7 separate regions of the Homo sapiens genome follow, and all the other regions are linked to region 4. The links are contacts of gene promoters, found by promoter capture Hi-C in blood cells and fetal thymus (Javierre and others, 2016). All regions are on one chromosome and are shown on one strand. Each heading gives the region's core, a stretch centred on a gene start or on the middle of the fragment in contact. The rest is flanking DNA. Distances are from core to core; before and after follow the strand shown. Region 1 overlaps ARHGAP26 (Rho GTPase activating protein 26). Region 2 overlaps ARHGAP26 (Rho GTPase activating protein 26). Region 3 overlaps PRELID2 (PRELI domain containing 2). Region 4 holds the start of YIPF5 (Yip1 domain family member 5). Region 5 overlaps ARHGAP26 (Rho GTPase activating protein 26). Region 6 has its middle 7.0 kb from the start of ARHGAP26. Region 7 overlaps ARHGAP26 (Rho GTPase activating protein 26).

What was found. The method cuts DNA at HindIII sites, captures the fragments that hold promoters and counts their contacts. A CHiCAGO score of 5 or more calls a contact.
Region 1: a fragment that was not itself captured here is called in contact with the fragment with the promoter of YIPF5 in region 4 in 5 of 17 cell types (total B cells, naive B cells, total CD4 T cells and 2 more); the score reaches 9.4 in total B cells.
Region 2: a fragment that was not itself captured here is called in contact with the fragment with the promoter of YIPF5 in region 4 in 5 of 17 cell types (total CD4 T cells, naive CD8 T cells, non-activated CD4 T cells and 2 more); the score reaches 7.0 in total CD4 T cells.
Region 3: a contact is called between a fragment that was not itself captured here and the fragment with the promoter of YIPF5 in region 4, in 5 of 17 cell types (M0 macrophages, M2 macrophages, naive B cells and 2 more). The highest score is 14.0, in M0 macrophages.
Region 5: a contact is called between a fragment that was not itself captured here and the fragment with the promoter of YIPF5 in region 4, in 1 of 17 cell types (total CD4 T cells). The highest score is 5.1, in total CD4 T cells.
Region 6: a contact is called between a fragment that was not itself captured here and the fragment with the promoter of YIPF5 in region 4, in 1 of 17 cell types (fetal thymus). The highest score is 5.5, in fetal thymus.
Region 7: a contact is called between a fragment that was not itself captured here and the fragment with the promoter of YIPF5 in region 4, in 1 of 17 cell types (total CD4 T cells). The highest score is 6.6, in total CD4 T cells.

The regions. Positions count from the first base shown.
Region 1 is chr5:142,931,310-142,934,014 of GRCh38, reverse strand. It overlaps ARHGAP26 (Rho GTPase activating protein 26), which reads right to left. Exons shown (of 23, transcript NM_001135608.3): 11 at 1,890-1,968. Among named protein-coding and RNA genes, the nearest start is that of ARHGAP26-AS1, 64 kb to the right of the region's middle. The HindIII fragment of the contact is 1,148 bases long and covers 800-1,947 here.
Region 2 is chr5:142,911,566-142,914,265 of GRCh38, reverse strand. It overlaps ARHGAP26 (Rho GTPase activating protein 26), which reads right to left. Exons shown (of 23, transcript NM_001135608.3): 10 at 973-1,067. Among named protein-coding and RNA genes, the nearest start is that of ARHGAP26-AS1, 44 kb to the right of the region's middle. The HindIII fragment of the contact is 1,944 bases long and covers 287-2,230 here.
Region 3 is chr5:145,826,107-145,828,828 of GRCh38, reverse strand. All of the region lies in intron 1 of PRELID2 (PRELI domain containing 2), which reads left to right. Among named protein-coding and RNA genes, the nearest start is that of PRELID2, 7.9 kb to the left of the region's middle. The HindIII fragment of the contact is 1,276 bases long and covers 681-1,956 here.
Region 4 is chr5:144,169,128-144,171,918 of GRCh38, reverse strand. YIPF5 (Yip1 domain family member 5) reads left to right here and starts at 1,260. Exons shown (of 6, transcript NM_030799.9): 1 at 1,260-1,384; 2 at 1,954-2,073. The coding sequence starts at 1,964. It overlaps KCTD16 (potassium channel tetramerization domain containing 16), which reads right to left and starts at 1,046. Exons shown (of 4, transcript NM_020768.4): 1 at 910-1,046. RefSeq lists an enhancer at 1,119-1,398. The HindIII fragment of the contact is 8,610 bases long and covers 1-2,791 here.
Region 5 is chr5:142,887,894-142,890,593 of GRCh38, reverse strand. The region is part of intron 5 of ARHGAP26 (Rho GTPase activating protein 26); the gene reads right to left. Among named protein-coding and RNA genes, the nearest start is that of ARHGAP26-AS1, 20 kb to the right of the region's middle. The HindIII fragment of the contact is 3,703 bases long and covers 1-2,700 here.
Region 6 is chr5:142,761,899-142,764,811 of GRCh38, reverse strand. No RefSeq gene overlaps it. Among named protein-coding and RNA genes, the nearest start is that of ARHGAP26, 7.0 kb to the left of the region's middle. The HindIII fragment of the contact is 3,227 bases long and covers 1-2,913 here.
Region 7 is chr5:142,778,442-142,781,202 of GRCh38, reverse strand. The region is part of intron 1 of ARHGAP26 (Rho GTPase activating protein 26); the gene reads right to left. Among named protein-coding and RNA genes, the nearest start is that of ARHGAP26, 9.4 kb to the right of the region's middle. The HindIII fragment of the contact is 1,974 bases long and covers 374-2,347 here.

The sequences.
Region 1 (2,705 bases), core at 124-2,623, 1.2 Mb after region 4:
TCTTCCTGGGCACTTCCTCCCCTATGAGTTGAAGAATCATTCAAGGGAGTGAGTGAAAGTACTGTAAAAATGAACTGAGAATTTTTCGAAGGCAATTTTAAATTTTATCTCCATTAAAGATGAAAACCAAATATGTCTAGGATTAGACATGGGTCAAATTCTAGCTTTGCCACTAGGATGGAGACTGCCAACTATTCACAGTATCCTTTCTCCTCTTCTTCTTTGAAGTAATAACATGTCCAGGGTCCTGGCAGGGCCCATGACTGCCTATGTACAGCCTAGGTTTCCCAGCCTGCTTTGCAGGTAGATATGGCTGTACCATTATGTTTGAGCCAATGGAAGTGACATGTGCATCTTCTGGGTCCTTCGAAATGCTTTCATCCTCATTTTCTGGCTGGAAAATGGCAATGACTGGAGCAATGTGGGAAGCCATGGGCTGAGGATAGCAGAATGACCCTACTAGGCATGGACTCCTCCCTTCTCGGCTCTAAGAGAGAAATACACTTATCTATCTTACATAAGCCACCGTACTTCAGAGTCTCTCTGTTAATAGCAACCTAGCCTGTACCCTACTAATATAGCCATTTACTATCTGTGCTACTTGGGGCAAGTTACTTAACCTCCCTAAGCTTCAGTTTACTTATCTATAAAATGGAATCACAGCACTTATTTCATTAAGTGCTAAGAGAAATAAACAGGTTAAGAGATGTAATGTGCTCAGTCCTGTGCCTAACATGTAAAAATGTGCTCAACAAATGGTAGATAATGCTAGCAAAAAGAAAGACCTACTTAGGAAGCTTCTTTCAAAGGCCTTTGACATCAAATAGCTATTGTGCCCATAAAGCCTCAAAGGTAGAAATGTGTATCTGGTTTTGAGGGTTCCTATGGGTAACAACGTATACAGAGATAATCAGAGCTATCTTATATTTTAGCCCAGGAGAAGAATTAAGATTAAACAATGCTTAATTATAGTTTAGCAAACTGTGCCTAAATCATCAGTTATTTAAATCTTTAAGAGATCTTGCTCTATATTATTAAATGTCATACAATACTAGCTATTTCTTTATGCCTAGTTGACTACGTCCCATGTTTGTATAAAATATGGCTGAGTAGAAAGGTACATAATCTATGTTGCCAGACCACCTCATCAGGGTAAGCTGAGAAAGACACACACAAATCAGCTGGCATTATCCAGCCTGACGCAAAGAGTTCTATAGTCAATGGAGCCCATGGCCTACTTCTTCCTTGCACACATTTCCTCCCTTTGGACAGTACCTGTGTAAGTATCAATTATTGGCCCTCTGGCATTGTAGATTCTTTTTCTCTTTTGTTGGTGGCACATAGTTAGACTGTACTCTTACAATTTCTGCAACCTTGAGATTTGCTGAACACTGGAGTTGAGATCCTTGGAACTAAGATAAGACGACTACAGTGATTCCAGGGCTCTTATGGATTTTACACGTCACAAGATGCAGAACAACTACAAGATTACATCACCCAGCTGAGGCCAGCATCGCTGAAATGGCAGCAGGGATCATATTACCAGGCTCACCTCCCTCCATCCATCCTGATAATGTCCCGCTGCTTATAAGGGGAGGTAAGTTACTACGGGAGGCTGAACCAGAAGTCAATGATAAAAGATGGGAGTTCTGGTGTAATTCTATGCAGAAGCCATGCCTTAGGACAGAGAGGCCAAAGCTCAAGAACTACATCTATACAGAAGCAATATCAATATCCACAAACATAAACCTAGGAATAAAAAACCACCTCTGGTACACTGGTTTCAAGAACCCAAGGCTTTAGAACAGCAGCAAAAATCACTGCACTAGGGAAGCAACAAACAACTCAGGGCCTTCATTCTTGCTCTACTTCCCTGAATTGTTACTTACAGGTTCCCGGCCATCCATGGCTTCCATCCAGAGCCTCCGGTCCTCTTCCGACAAAGCTTGCATGGTGATAACCCCTGGCCTGCAGAGAAAGGAGGGACATGGATATGAAACCAGTGCCACATGTAGAGAGATTGGTGAAGGCAAATCTTAAACATCCACTCAAAAGAGTCAGTGGCTGCTAAGGTTAACAACACAAAGAGGGGCAAAACACTCGGCTTTACTAAGCCACCTTCTACTCTCAGAAAGGATGGCCCAAATTCCTCTCAGTCAGCCCATCTCCCTCAGAGAGGCAGAAACACAGAAGACATGATCCTATTTTACAGGTAAGGGACGTAGAGGAGTTAAGTGATGCCTTTAGACGTTGTTCAATTCCTTGAAATCTTATTCATTTCTAGACCTCAAAACGCTTAACAGAGTATTTTACTCACGGTAGAAATGCAATAAATGTTTGTGGAAGTGAATGGAATTACTGGACTCAAGATAAAAAAAAGAGGAGAAAATATCCAACCTGGAGGCATGCTTGTCTCCTAATATCTAGTCCACTGCTTCTAAACTGCTTCAGACATGGAGAAGTTTTATGGTGGTCATCATCTTGGTAGTTATGATTAAATGTGCACAGTATTTTTTAAAAATGAATACTTAATCATGTCAGGTGCTAAGTGCTTTACATGCATGAGATCATTTCACTCACTGAAATCTGCTTGCTCTCTAAAACTGAGCACAAGCCCTCCAGAAGACATGCATACAATATCAAATGGGTTTTGTTCAGTTCCCATCACAAATGGTACTCCGCAAGAAAAAGAGACTGCGCCATAA
Region 2 (2,700 bases), core at 9-2,508, 1.3 Mb after region 4:
GCCTAACAGCCTCCAGCAGCCCCAGCAGCCTGCAGTGCAGAGTAGACACCTGCCAGAAGAAGGCAGTGCAACCCCAGGCAGTACTCAGTCTCAGGATGCCATAGAGCCAGGGAAAGGTGGCCACAGATGAACTTCCCAGGGAGGGGTGAGTACTGGCTTGATGAAATGGTATAATGTTTTTTTAATAAAAGGAAGAGATTAAATGGCATTATACGGAGTATCATGCTGAGATTTAAGGATCTTGGTGCTAGCATTCCTGATCTTGAACAGGCAGCTCAAATAAGCTTAACACGTGGGTTTCATTGAAAAAATTAACCTGTTGCCAAGTAAAGTGTCTCAAAGAATTGGAATGTTGTCAAACTAGCTTAACACCACGAAATGGTACAACTTAATGAGAGACTCTATAAATCTCGAGGAATACAACACACGGCTCTCTCTCCAAAAAATTGTGATTTCACGAGTGGTTTGGTGTCTTTCCTGGGCACGCACACACACTGGTAGGTGAAATGTAACTAAAAGCTGTTTTTTTATTTGAGAAAAATTTCTTCCATTTCAATGCCTTTCGAATCATTATACTAACTTTTTCAGTTAAAAAAAATTCAAATAGCTGATACAATCATGCTAAATACTTTTCTTTAAAAGTCTACTACTCAATCTCCTGGAGATATAACACACATTTCTGAGCATGAAAGCACTAATATTAAAGTAAAACAAAACCAAGCCAGTGATTCAGTGCTGAACCCAAAAGATAGGGAGGTTCTAATGATTCTCGCAAATCAGCAATAGCCTGGATCCAGCACCCTGGACATAGATGAATGGATGGAGAAGGAAAGGAAGGAGGCAGGGGGAGAAGGAAAGGAAGGAGGGAGGGGGAGAAGGGGAAAAAAGCAGAAAAGGTTTGACTGGAAAGAAAAAGTAAGATATAGAAATTCAGCTCTATTTGCTCCTGAGAAAAGCATGCTAGCTACTCACCTGTCTACTGCTTCCACATCAAAGCAAAACCTCTTCTCAATGGAGTCTGTTTTCCGCCGTGTGCAGGATTTGAGGATAACTGATTCATCTTCTCCCTAGTGGGAACACACAGACTATCAAGATGAGGCCAGAATGGGAGCTCTACTCCTCCCAGGACATACATGACATGTAAACAGGAGCAATCATTTCATCTTCTCAAATCTGAGTGCTCATGACCATGGGCAGTGGAAGGGTGACTATAAACCTTTCCAGGACAAAGCCTCATGCAGCTTACATTCGTATACCATGTTAGACTTGGACCCAAACATCTTTAGTACGGGTGGATCATGATGGCACCGCATCTGTCCATGGTAGATAAACGAGTGTTGACATTGTTTTAATTTGCAGGTTTGATAAGAGTAGAAGAAGATGGTCTCCTCCTAACTCTGAGCTTCTATGATCTTGGGTTGGTCATCACTTCTCCAAAAAAATCTTCCTGGATCAGAACAAATATCCCCAGAACGTGTTCACAAAGCACCATGTACATCTCCCTCCATCACAGCACTGACCATAGCTGAAACTGCGCATTGATATAGGTGATGAATACAATAATGTCTCTCTCTCCATTAGACCACAGGACCCTGAGAACAGAGACTGGGTCAAATTTTGCTTACTTTTGTCTCCTGGGCCCAACTGGATCCTAGAAAAGAGTAGCTCCTCAATAAATACATTTTAACAACTTTACTGACATATGATTAAGGTATAAGCTGTACATGTTGAACTGTACAACTTATAGATTTTGATGTCATATACATCCATGAAACCAACACCACAACCAAGCCAGCAAACAATTCCATCATCCCCAAAAGTTTCCTTGTATCCCCTGGCAATCCATCCCTCCTCCTAGTACATCCCCAAGCAATCGCTGAATCTGCTTTCTGTAACTATTGATTAGTTTGCATAGTCTATAATTTTATATAAATGGAACTACACAGTATGTGCTCTTTTTGTCTGGCTTTTTTCACTTAACGTAATTGCTTTGCTATTCATCCACATTGTTGTGCATATCAAGGGCTTATTTCTCTTTATTGTTGAGTAGTATTCCATTGTTCAACTGAATGTGACAATTTCATCTCATAGCACTAGTTTATTGCCCAGAAACACAGAAGTTGCTGTCCCTGATTTCTTCTTACTGTCACTTAGGAATTTGTTAGGGTTTCTGTTTCTCCTGCCTCTGTCAATCTTTTTTATCTAAACTAACAGGGGAAATTAGCAAGCTTGCCCAGTTTGTTGAAATAACAGAAAGTGTGGCTACATAAGGTAAAATTTAACCACCCACTAATATCAGAAGAGCAAACAAAACACAGAAGGCCTAGGAGGAGACAGTTTATATTCACAGGCCTTATACCTATTGTCTTCCACTGAATAGCAAAGATTAATTTCTCAGACAGAACTGCTCTTTCTCTAGTCTGTAAAATATCTGAGTGCAAACACCCAAACATAAGAGATTCTGACTTTGCTGATGTCTAACTATAAATCTGATTTAATGGCTATGGACCAGCTTCCACTTTGAAAGATTACATGAGGTGTCCCAGAGAAATGGGAGGGAATAGGGATATATAAAGGATCACCAAATACATGCAGAAAGAGGAGGAAGATTAATATTCTGTTCCAAGGATGACCATACCATATCAGCAAAAATCTATAAAGATGGTCTGTTCAACTATTGATTGCTTTAAAAAGTGGGGG
Region 3 (2,722 bases), core at 69-2,568, 1.7 Mb before region 4:
TTTTTCACTATCTAAGTACATGGACCTGTCTTCAAGGAGTTCACTGTCAAAAGGGACAGAGGAGGATATATTAATTTTCATGATAAAGGCTTTCTTGGGGGCATATGGCAGACATTACATTGTAGTATGGGGCAAGATTTATATTTTAATTATAAATCCATGAAAGCATTTAAACTATTTAGAAACAGTTGTCTTTTTAAAAACAAGTAAATATTCTCTCCAGCACTCTTACTTCTCTGGTGCAGCCCTTTCCCTAATGCTAGTGTGGAGTGAAGTGTCAGGGAGGCCTTGTATCTTACACAAATTCCGAACTGGTAAAGCACGAGCTTCTGAGTTTTTTATTAGTCTAGGAAAATCAGATATATTATCTTCTAATCATTTTAAAATCATTGTGTAAGTATTTTTGGATTGCAGATAGATGCCAGCAATGTATTTAATGCCACACCACAGTAAATTGCAAGATAAAAACCAAAATCTTGAAACTTTTTAAGTCTTCAAAAGTGTTGATTCATTTGTTAGTAGCAAAACCAGCTACATTTATTTTCTACTTGCACAGTGCTAGGTATTATACTGTAATTAAATTGTTTCCTTTAATTCTTATAACAACTCTTTGAGGTAAGTATTTATTCTCATTTTACAGATGAAGAAACTAGGGCAGATTAAAGTGATTTGTCCAAGCTTCTCACAGATAGGATTCCAATTCAGATCTCTTGGGCTCTAAAATTCACTGTTTTCTAACATCGTGTCTTTAATTTTGTTTTTTATTTCTTTTCATTTATAAATAATTTGACTTATAAAACATTTCAAAAACAATATTGCAGAAACAAAGAATTCCCACATACTTTTTTCCAGCTTCCCCAAACCACAGTATACTTTTTAAAACCAGGAAATTAACACTGATACAATGCTATTAACTAACCTATAGACCCTATTTAGATTTTGTCAATTGTCCACTAGTATCGTTTTTCCAGTCTAGCATCCAATTCAGGACCCCACATTGCATTTAGCTGCCAGTGTCCTGCAGTGTAGGACGGTTCCTCAGTCTTTCCTTGCATTTCCGGACCATGGTGATTTTGAAGAGTGCTGGGCAGTTATTTGTAGTGTATCTTTAGCTGCACTGGGTTTATGCATACATTTGATGTTGTGATAAGAGGATTTTCCTCTGTGTTACAATGAAAAACTGTCTTTTCAAAACCTTCACTATGCCGTTGCTGATTATTGGGTCATTTTTGAAAGAAAGAGGCTGATGTGCTGTTGGTTGGCCTTTGTTTGGAACCATAGCTTTTCCTGGCCAGAAGGATCTTGGATGATCACCTGGTGGTTCATCACCCCGACCTCACAGATGGCAGCGTTGTAGTCTGCATGTCTTGGCTCGTTGCCCTTTGTTCTTTCTATTTCATCATCCTATTGAAAGACCAATGAACAGCCATTCCAAATACTTTTCAACTTAAGTACGTTTTGTCCTTGATCATTGAAATTTTGATTAATTTATAACTCGTTTCGTCTTGGTATAAAATCAACTTTGCTTTTCTTCTGAGATAGACTATGGTGTGGAGCTCATAAAAGGAATTTGGCATAGCTCATGGTGATTTCTTTCTGCTGCTAAACACCAAATCTCTTTTCAGCAGCCCCATCTCTTTGCATGTACATGTTTGGCAGCAGCCTAGATAACAGATTCCCTTAATGCTTATAACACGGGTATGTTAATATACCAGACTTACTGTAGGTCTTCTTTGCCTTCTTTGAAGGACTCTTCAGACAGATCTGTCAGTCACCTGCTTCCTTGTACTCTCTCTGGTAACCTCATTTGTAAATTGGTAGACAGTGACTCCTTTGGATGTCACTGACTGTTTCTGAGAGGGGAAGCAAATGTTATTAAAAAAAGGCATTGGCTTTTGAGCTTTTTGGAAAGTTCATATTTTAATAACTCTTTTAAGAGTAGGCTTTCTGAAAGCTTATGGGTTTTTTTTTCCCTCGGCAAATATGAATGCAAAATGTTATATCTTCATGAAGCTTCTCCCAGAAACATATTGAATATTCTGTAATTAGATGGATTCAGTTTCTTGCCTCTAACTTTTTATATATATGTGTTTGCTTTAATGCATATTCCCCCCCAATATTATGGAGTTCTTGGCTTATCTTTTAATATGTAAAAACTAAAGCAAGCAGATACAACAGCTTTAGGCACGTCTACATTTTACCCTTGTTAGACTGTTACATACATATGATATATACAGTGGTATTTGTAGTAGTTTCATGTCTTCGGGAAAGGAAAAGGAGTTAGTTTACACGTTCTGTGAAGAAATTAAAAATTATAAGGAAATGCAAAATGAAGTCAAATATACCTTTAAAAATCCCTTAAATCATCCATAAAGTAGTATAGCATACATGGCATATGTATGCAGCCTGTGGGATCGTTCTCTTGCACACTGCAGTTTGTGATCAGCTAAGCCAGGATCAAGAAAGACAAGGGCTTTTGGCAGATATCTGGGTCTTCAGATCACATTGCTTTCATGAGAGTCTCTAGTATGAAATGGGGATTGAAGAATCCCATGTGAACCTGCTTGTCTGCGGGCTTTACACTATTATATTTATAGCAGAAATACTCTGTATATTAATACTTGATAGGTTTCCACGCTTTGAGAAGGACTGAATGAGATCATGCGCATGGCAGCTTCTCTAGGATAGCACCCTGCGTGAACACAGTAGCTGCTCAGTTAAG
Region 4 (2,791 bases), core at 11-2,510:
AATATTCGGGATTCCACCATCTTGGGAAAGTGATTTAACACAGGAGCCAAAGCAATCATTTTCAAAAGAAAACAATTTAAACATCACTCATCAGTTCACAATCTTCACTTCTTTTAGAACCAACACACAAATCCCACAGGATATTTCCTGGCCCCTTCCTGTTATTCCAGCCTCAACTCCTATGTGGCTCCCCTCACTTGCTGTTCCAGTCACTCAGGTTCCACTTAGAAGAGTGGTTGACAAATTCAGCTAATGTTGCCCCCACCGCCCCCAAGGACATTTGGATTTGGCAATGTCTGGAGAGATTTTTAGCTGTCACAACTTGGTGGTGATGGTGGTGGTGGTTGGTTGGGGGGAGTACTGGCATCTAATGGCTAGAGATTAGGGATGCTACTGCTAAGCATCATGCACAGGGCAGCCCCCAATAAAGAAACATCCTGACTCAAAATGTTAATAATGCTGAAGTTCAGAGCTCGATTTTCATCTTTCCTCAGACCATGCTTCCCAGATCTTGCACACATTGTTCTCTTTGCCTAAAATATTCAGGCTATTTTCCCTTATCCTCCTTTCCCGTTGCCCTTTCTTCTCTTTTCTGGTCTTCTCTAACTCCCACTCACCCTTTGATAACCCTCTTATAGTGGCTTTACAGACTCTTCTTCCCAGATGAATGTTACTCTTTCAAAGAATTATGGAACACTAAAGAATATTAGTAGCAATTTCACATGCATTTGTATGTGTTCGATTACCCCTCTCCACCACCAACTCCAGGTGGGTAGATGTCACCTAGCTTATATTTACCACAGTATCCCCAGCAGCTAGCACAGAATGAATGAATACTTAATAGCTTCACTTACAAAAGGGAAATAGGGTAACCATCTCATTAGGTTGTAAAGATTAAATAATACATACAAACACTTTAGCACAGTGCTTGAATCACAGTAAATGCTGACACCGAGGCATTGTAGGCATTGTAGTTTGTGGACAGGAGAGGGGACTCCGTCTGTCTCATTTTAGCGCCTCCCAGTCTTCCTCCATCACCTAGGTCTGAGAAACTCCTCCTCCTACCTACGAGTAAGCAGCAATTGCTACGCCTGCGCTTTCCTGGTTCCACCCCTAACCAGGCTGCCGGAAGCACTTTCCTCTTTGGCACGGGCCAGCCGCAGGTTGGGTAGATACTGCGCAAGCTCCATACTCGTGTCTCCTCCTCCCGCCCACCGGTGCCCAACCTGCTAACACGCCTGCGCGAGCGGGCGTGCCCCGGAAGCCGTTCTTTGGCCCTGTGACACGTAGCAACGGGGCTGGTTCAGGGTCTGAAACAGAGTTTGGGGGTTGTTTGGGATTAGTGAAGCTACTGCCTTTGCCGCCAGCGCAGCCTCAGAGTTTGGTGAGTGACCCAGGCCCGTGGCACAGTGTTCAGCTTCTCTCCACACCCGTGCAAATGGGCTTGTTGCCGTCTTTCGGCGCCGCGCCCTGGTCCTTTCGCTCAGACCCTCGCTCTCATTCAAGCCCTTGCCCTGACGCGGTCCCCTGCACCTCAGGCGCGACCTTCCAGATTCTGCACTTTTTCCTGGCAGGCCGCAGGCCTTATTTTGCAAGGAAGCAGTCGCCTTGTCAGCTGTAAAGCCCAGTCCTAAGGTGAAAAATCATCTTTGTTGTTATTGATATTTTAGACCGCTTATGGAACCACAACTCCCACGACCTCGCCCCTAATGGAAGGCATATCAGCTCTTTAAGGTGGAGTTGTCTTACTGGGCCGCAACTTAAAAGAATATACATTTTCTTACTCTCTCTCCGCTACCGTCGTTCAAATGCTGCGTACTTTCCGCCCCCATCCCCTCTCCGAATTACTGAAAAAATATTTGTTGTGTTTCTATTTGCTTAAGCAGACTGCCAGGAACGAATTCAGTAGAACCTTGGGCATAAGGAATATTTGCCATTTCTCTTTTATTACAGATTATTTGCAATGTCAGGCTTTGAAAACTTAAACACGGATTTCTACCAGACAAGTTACAGCATCGATGATCAGTCACAGCAGTCCTATGATTATGGAGGAAGTGGAGGACCCTATAGCAAGTAACTTTTCATCTTTGGCAATTAATTTAGTCTACATTGCAGTGAAAACACATATTTAGAATATTTGGTTCTGCCTAAAACAATATGTGAACATGTCCTTTATCAGGAGTATGATCTTTCATGCATAATCTTCTTCCTCTAGAGAGATATGTGACACTGGCTTGGCTTCGAAGGTATTGTTCTATTTAAGAGTTGAGTGTCTTCTGCAAACTCTTCAGGTGTACCATGAATGGAAAAGTAGCTTGTTTGAAGAACTGTTTTCTAGTAACAGTATTTCTGTATTTAGAAGATGATGGGAGCTTCAGGTACCTAGGAGATAGGCTGTTAGTTCATAGGACCAGTGAAAAATTAAAGTATTTTGTTAGTAGTTAAATCAGTCCAACTCTGAGACTTTTATCAGTGCTAATTGAAAGTGCTTAGTGACATTATTTAATGATGTAAGCTCCTTATTACGAATCATCAGGCGATTTTCATACAGCAGTTGATAATCATTTTTATTACTCCTCCTTCTCAAACCCTTATGGTCAGTGCCACACGTGTTATAAGTTGCATACTGAGGAGGTTGACTCAAAGCCGTTAGCCTCTGAACATTTTTTTTTAAATGATCTTTTTATAGTACCTGGTGTTTGTGACAAAAATACATGAACTGAAGGCTTTCTAGCAATCTCACCTAAAACATCATCTCCTTAGTTTCTTAGGACCCTAGAGATAATCTTAT
Region 5 (2,700 bases), core at 147-2,646, 1.3 Mb after region 4:
CCCAATCCACTCTGCACACAGGAGCCAGAATATCTTCCTTAAAATCTAAATCAGATGGTCTCATGGTCCCCTTCAAGGACTTCTCATGGCCTCTACCATGGTCTGCAAGACCCTGTGTAATAATCTGCCCAACCCTCCAGCCTCACCTCCTCCCATCCTAACCCACTGTCACCATGCTCCAGCATGGTGACATGAGTAACTGCTGGATCTCCTTCCTGTCCTCTAACACTCCAAACCGCTTTCTTTCCCACAACCTTTTCACCTGGTGTTCATTCTGCCCAAAAACCTCTTCTCCTAGATAAACACACATTTTAACTTCAACATAGAGTAAGAAATACTTTTTATATTATGACTCAATAAACACACATTTATAATGGTTAAATGCAATGCACTTTCATATATATATATATATATATATATATATATATATATATATATATATTTTTTTTTTTTTTTTAAGACGGAGTTTCGCTCTTGTTACCCAGGCTGGAGTACAATGGCGCGAATTCGGCTCACCGCAACCTCCGCCTCCCAGGTTCAAGATATTCTCCTGCCTCAGCCTTCCCAAGTAGCTGGGATTACAGGCATGCACCACCATGCCCGGCCAATTTTGTATTTTTAATAGAGATGGGGGTTTCTCCACGTTGGTCAGGCTGGTCTCGAACTCCAGACCTCAGGTGATCTGTCCACCTCAGCCTCCCAAAGTGCTGAGATTCCAGGCATGAGCCACCGCGCCAGGCCTTGTATTTTTCATTCTATTTTAGCCTACCCTATTGCATAACCCAAAAACTGTGATTTTGCGACACACTCACAACCTGAAGAAGATTGTCCTGGCCTTTCATTAGCTCATTCCTTCTGGGCTCAGTTTAAATGTTACCTCTTTAGGAGAGGCTTTCATTGACTATGTTATTTTAAATAGGTTACCAGGAAATCTCTGTCTCATCTCCCAATTTAAACTCTTATCTATTCCTTTCTTGAGACAGAGTCTCGCTCTGTTGCCCAGGCTGGAGTGGAGTGGCATGATCTCAGCTCACTGCAAACTCCGCCTCCTGGGTTCAAGTGATTCTCCTGCCTCAGCCTCCCAAGTAGCTGGGATTACAGGCGCGTGCCACCACATCTAGCTAATTTTTTTTTTGCATTTTCACTAGAGACAGGGTTTCGCCTTGTTGGCCAGGCTGGTCTCAAACTCTTGACCTCAAGTGATCCACCCGCCTTGGCCTACCAAAGTGCTGGGATTACAGGCATGAGCCACCGTGCCTGGCCTACTAGACTACTAGAATATAAAGTCCATGAGAACAAAGACCTCGTCTAATTTTTTCATTTTTCTCCTCCAGTGCTCAGAACGGTGTATGGCCCATAATAAACGTTCAACAGATGCATGCAGAATGAATGAATTGATCCCCATGTGGCCATCAGTCAGCACCAAAGGCATGTCCCATCAGTGACCCAGAACTAAGAACAAATGCATAACTCAATGCATTCCCAAAGGAAAAGGAAGAAGAAATCCTAAGCGGAATGTTATGCTTCTCTTGCCAATGCCCCAGAATGGTGTGGGCCACAGAATCCATCACATCCTTGGGCCCCCTGCAATGGAATTATAAGCCAGGATCCCAACCCACCCTGCAGACCGCTCAAGACAGTTTCCCTGCCTGCCACTTGAGAAGCTATAAATCTACCGGCTTGATTAAACCCGTCAACCATTCTGCGTTTCTTGGAAAAGAGACTTCCTCCTAGATTGTAATTTCCATGAAAGAAGATCCTTCATTTCACTTTCTACAAAACACCCAGTGCCTGGACAGACTTTTACAGAAGCGTCCAGTGAGTATTTGTTGAATCAATGACTACTGTTTTTGAGGCGAGCTTTTTTACCATTCAAAAACTATGCATTTGTTTAAATCATCCACTAGATGGCAGTGCCATTCCACATCACTGCCCTGTAGTTTCTACTTCCAGGGATCTAGGGATGGGCTGGAATTTAAAAGCATTCCGTGCAGAACCCTGCAATCAGGGAACAACTCTGGATAATCAGAGTGGAAGGTTTCATCAAAGGTGTACCACGTGCTCAACAATGTTCCTAAAAGTTGAATTTTTAATAAATGTGAAGAAAATGATCAATACATAGCTGAACACCTTGAGCAAAACACCTGACCCCTACGAGAAACTCAGTTCCCTCATAAAACGTAATTCAAGAAAGTTGAAATGGATGATCACTAAGGTCCTTCCCTCTCTCTAATTCTATATCATGACACTGGCACTAAATAACATGGTCAGCAGGCAAGAGAGCCTCAACATCCCTCCCCAGATAGAGACGTAGAAAAGCAAACTGGGTGAAGGGAAAGGGCTGCACAGCCAGTGCTGGAGTTAACTCGCTACCACTAAGCTATTTATCCTATCTGAGCCTCAGTTTCCTCATGTGTAAAACAGAGTAGTAACCACATCTATACCTCTTAGGGTGAGGATTCCAGAAGATTCCATGTAAAGTGCTTAACACCATACCCAGGCCATAAATATGCATTCAACAAATGTTTCCCTATATTATAGTTGCTATTGATGTGGTTAGTGGCAGTAGTAATATCATCACTGTTCTTTTTTTTGTTTGTTTTTTGATGTTTGGTTTTTGGTTTTTTTTGAGAAAGAGTCTCACTCTGTCGCCCAGGCTGGAGTGCAGTGGCGCGACTGTGGCTCACTGCAACCTCCGCC
Region 6 (2,913 bases), core at 212-2,711, 1.4 Mb after region 4:
AACTTGAATGAGATCACATATGAATGACAGAGGAGCGATTTCATTATCGCTCCTTATGAGCTGTATGTGGTTTTCCAGGGCTTGTTGCTGGTATGTCCCAAATATGTCAATAATTATACAAGCCTCTAATTTGCTTTAGCTTTAAATCACAGGCCCTACAATTTATGTAGAAGCAGTTGATTGAAACAGACATAAAATTCTCAGTTTCCTTAAAGAAAAAAGAATAATCTATCCTCATAAAGCCACTGGCTCATAGTTCTTTAAGGGAGGTAGCAGCACCTATTTAACATTCTTTGGCTCAAGAAATTAGTGAAACTCATAGCATTTGTTCTACACAAGTTTTACATGTTAGCAATACTTTTATTTTCAGTTTTCATGATTTATTTCATGCTTGCCACTTTTCTACCTAATATTCACTCTTTACCTTACTCATTTATTGAAAGTGCTTATATAACATTTACTGTATACCAGATACAGTTCTAAACACTTTAAAAATATTAACTCAATTAATACTTAGCAACCCTATTATTATCTTATCTCCCTTTACAGGGGAGGCAAGTGAAATGAATCACCTAAAATCATATAACTAATGAGTGGCAGAGCTGAGATTCTCAAAAGGTAGTCTAGCTCCAGACTTAGGTTACGTTTCTAGCAGAACCCCAATGTGCCCAACTAAAGAATTTAATTTCTTAGGTTTTCACACAGCTGGTGGTGGCCATGTGCCACTTTTCTGACCACTGAGATACACTTGGAAGTGTATTGGCTGGGGCTTTGGAAAGGTTTGTGTGTTTTTTTGTTCTTGTTGTTTTTTTAATAAAGAGACAACTGCTGACACACACCTTCTGCTTACTTCATTTCCCTATTCTTTTTGTCTTGAATGTGGATGCAATGCATGGAGCAGCAGCAGCCATCTTGCAGTCATGAAGATGAATATCACATGCTAAGGATGGCTGGATGGGAAAACAGAGGGAGCCAGGTAGCTTGGTGACACCCACGAGCCACAATACCCATCTCCAGAGTACCCACCTCCCAACTACTCATCACATAAAGAGGGAAAAAACAACCTATTTGTTTAAGCTACATTAATGGGGTTTCCTGTTACTCAAAGTCAAAACTACTCTAGTTGATATAATGCATTAATTATAAAACCTATTGTTTCACCTCCTCTTGGATTTTCAGCAGCTGCATTAATCCATGGTTCTTAGGCAGTTTTCACATTAGAAAATCATAGTTTTAAGGATGATTTCTTAAACATTAAAAGATGATATCTGCATTTACAGGGCAGGAATATGTATTAAATGAGGAAAAGTATTTAAGCAAAAGGACACTCTATTGATAAAAATAAACTGTTCAAAAGCTGATATGAAACCAGAAAACTATCAAAGACAATTTCAACAGAGACCCAGAATTATCTGGGTCAATAAAAATAATTGGCCTATTCTTCTATAATTGTTGGTGCTAAAATGACCAAATAAATTAGTTCACTTCAGTAACCTAAACTCAAGCATTCCTATGTGCCTTGCTCTCTTTCTTGCCTCTGAATCTTATACATGAGTATATGCTTTAAATGGACAATAGCATATTATAGATCCTGAGAAATCCTGTGTTAAGTAATCCTTGAGATTTTGCTTAACCAAGTATTTCTCGTAGTTCTTTGAGCACAGAATCCTGTTTTTCCCCCAAACATTACATCCTATGCATAGTGTTCTATAAAATGCATTTAGGAGGGTGTGGTGGCTCACGCCTGTAATCCCAGCACTTTGGGAGGCTGAGGCAGGTGGATTACTTGAGATCGGGAGTTTGAGATCAGCCTGGCTAAGATAGTGAAATCCCCTCTCTATTAAAAATACAAAATTAGCTGGGCGTGGTGGCGCATGCCTGTAATCCCAGCTACTCAGGAGGCTGAGGCAGGAGAATTGCTTGAACTTGGGAGGCGGAGGTTGCAATGAGCCGGAATCACGCCACTGCACTCCAGCCTGGGTGACAGAGTGAGACTCCGCCTCAAAAAAAAAAAAAAAAAAATGCATTTAGGACATAAACACTAACATAGACTGCAGGAATAAGGACATATAAGATAAAGCGATAATTTCTAGTCTTCTGTCATTTTAGTTATTGCAAAATAGGAAGTCTGTCATGAAGCATTAGCAAACTTTCTAAAGCAAGTGGGAAACTATCACTTCCCAACTTCGAATCCTTATTGATGGATGGGCTTTTCATCCATGGGAATTCACATTTCTTTTGATGGCTCCGGTTTTGAGATGATGCTGTGGTTTTTAGTGAGTGCATGTGTTTGTTGAAGGTGGCTTAGTGGCAGTGAAGAGGGCAATATTTCAATAGATAAAGTATTCTGATCTTCTTTTCATCTATGGAGAAGCCAGGATGAAAAATCAATGCTAAAATGGATTATCCTCCATCTAAACACAGGGCGAATGGGATACAATGTCTGTTAGGGGAGAGTGAATATTGGCAGATTTCTTTACTTCCCCATTTTCCTTTGTATTTCTTTTCTGGAATTTCCCATCACTATATTTCTATTTTTGACTTTAAAAAGTTAGTAGCTGTTGGCCGGGCGCAGTGGCTCACACCCGTAATCCCAACACTTTGGGAGGCTGAAGCAGGTGGATCACGAGGTCAGGAGATCGAGACCATCCTGGCTAACATGGTAAAACCCCATCTCTACTAAAAATACAAAAAATTAGCCGGGCGTGGTGGTGGGCGCCTGTAGTCCCAGCTACTTGGGAGACTGAGGCAGGAGAATAGCGTGAACCCGGGAGGCTGAAGTTGCAGTGAGCCGAGATCGCGCCACTGCACTCCAGCTTGGGATACAGAGCGAGACTCCATCTCAAAAAAAAAAAAAAAAAAAAAAGCTACTAGCAGTTAAATTCTCAAACTAAAGCATTCTATCACTATAAA
Region 7 (2,761 bases), core at 111-2,610, 1.4 Mb after region 4:
ACACTGCCCCCTTGGGCTCGATAAGCCTTCAGTTGCCTTTCCCACAGGCCTCTGCTCCCTCCCCCAGAGGCCCTTTTAAACTGCTAGCAATCTCCCCTTTGTGCTGTGGGCTGCCTGTTTCCCTGCCTCCTCTCAAAACAGTGAGCATCTAGGAGACAAGGACTGTGCCTGCTTCATGCCAGGAACCTGGCCAATGTAGCCTTCTACATCAACAGGAGCTGGAACAGAGATGGCAGAGGACATGTGGCATGATCCTGTCCTCTATCAGGGAAAAGTGCTAAGCTCTGCAGGAGAAGCTGCCAGAGAGAGATGTCATGCAAAACTCCCGACTCCCTCACCAGCTCCCAGGAATTCCAGTGCCCACCGGGAAGCTTCTATGATAGGCAACGTGTCCCCTAGACCAGAGTCACGGTCTCCGGTCACAGAAGGCAGAAGACTGCCCTCCTTCAACAAACCTGCCGAATCTCCTGAATGTTACACGCACCGCACAAAGATAAAAACTCAACAGCACCATCACTAGGAACACAAACAAGGTCTCTGGGATCCTACATTCAACTGATTTCTAGGTACAGCTGTCTCAGTTTAGGGAATGATTTTTGCTGTGGCTTTTAATCCCAGAATTAACAATACACACAAACTGGAAAGGGGAAAATGGAGAAAATTCTAAGTATTGTTTTATTTACAGAGACCATTCTGTAATAAACTGTCTAAAATGGTGAGTTTCCTTCCTACTCTAAAATCATGGTTTATCAAATTCAGTTCACTTAGAACTTTTCAGAAACACTGTTATGAAATACTTATTAAAATGAAAAATGTACATACCCTTTGGTCCAGCAGTTTCATTTCTAGGAATTTGTCACTCATGTGCCTCATGCCAGAGGTGCCAGGATGTTCACAACAACATTACTTGCAATGGTGAAAGGTTGGAAATAATCTAAATGTTTATTATTAGGGGAATGGTTACATACACTATATTTAATTCATACAATAGAATACAATGCAATCTAACAATGAGTGAGCTCTCTATGTACCAATGTAGAATAATATCTAATATATTAAAAGCAAAGGGTAAAACAGCACATATGGCACAATGTGTATGTGTATTTGTTGGCACATGCATAAATTACATCTGAAAAATACCAAAGAAACCAATAAAATGCCTCCAGAGGAAGAAGTGGGGATCAGGAGACAGGAAGCATTGGAGGGATATTCACATTCTCTTTTGTCTCTTTTGAATTATGAACAACTTATAGGTATTACCTATTTAGGCAACCCTTTTAAAAAGAAACATAGCTATGAGTTAAAGTAAAAATGCCTTATTTTATTTGTTCGACTAATATTCATTGTCTACCCCTGACCCACAAGTGTGATAACGAGATACGCAGTCAGGAATTTGCTAAGGCTTTGGTCCTATCTGTTTGACAGTCTCCTTGGCACAGAAACAGCCAAAGTTCAACTCAGTCAGCTTGGAGATCTATCTGAAGTCTCAGAGGAGGAGGCAGTTCATATTTTCAAAGTGTTCAAATTAGCCTGCAGTAAACTTAAAAGCAGATGTGACAGCAAGATCAGATGAGTTTTGAAACTTACCAGCGGTATCTTTTCAAACCATATAAAATAGGAGTTTTTTGAGCTTTTGCTGTGTGGCAGCAGCAAGAGTCAAAGAGTAGCTACTGGCTTGGCCCAGAGAAACCAGCTAGTTAACAGTTTGGTGTGGAATTCACAAACCCCTCAAACCTTTGTCTATCTGGCAAAGAAAACACACACACACACACACACACCACCCTAACCCCAGGAATCTCCTCTTTCTAAATATAGCAGGAAACTGCCCAGTCTCCAGCTTACCCAGGGCAGCATTCTGTGCCTTCCAATCAAGGTGAAATGAGCCAGACACAAACATGCCATGACAGCTCGTGGCCCACACTGCCAAGCTGTTTTCCTTACCATTTCCTCTCTCTCCATTCTGAGGTGCTACAAAAATGTGTAAACCCCAGTCACTATAATTTGTAAAAATTCCTCTGGCTGCTAATGCTGTTGTTCTCACCCTAAATAAACATGATTTCCTTCCTAGTCCCTGAGCCTGGAGGTTAGAATAGACTCTTAGATATGGGCAAAGCCCCATCCCATCTCCCATCTGACCTATAAGAACATGCCACTCAGAAAGCATATCAAGCAGTTCCAGGGCTAATAGGGACACATCCAATTAATTGTCATCTCTCTTTCCCTGGCACACATACACACACACTAAGTTTTTTTTTTTTTTCTATCCCTTGGTTGTTTTAAAATCAGTGTCAGTGTCTAACAGAAGGGTCTGTTAAGGATGCTTCTGATTTAACCAAAAGATTAAGCTTCAGAAACAATCTAACATACTCAAAGGAGCACCAAATTATCAACCGGCTACAAGGATGCAAAGGACCTAAACAACAGATGTCAAAGGGCTTGTAAAAACTGGAGCCAGCAACCATTCCACTTGAAGGAATCCATCTCAGGGAAATGCTGGAATCCACACACAAAAGCAGGTGTGCAAATAATCACTGCAGCACGCCTTCTAATAGTGAACAACAGAGACAATCCAAATATCCTTCAACAGGAAACTGAGTAAATACCAACTATGGCATATCCACATAAAGCTCTCTGCAGTCATTAAAAAGAATGCACTACATGCATGTACTGACATGGAAGGTCTTCAAGACAAATGATCAACTCGAAAAGCAAAACACAAAATAATCCTTATAGTATAATCCCATTTATGAAAAAAACACGC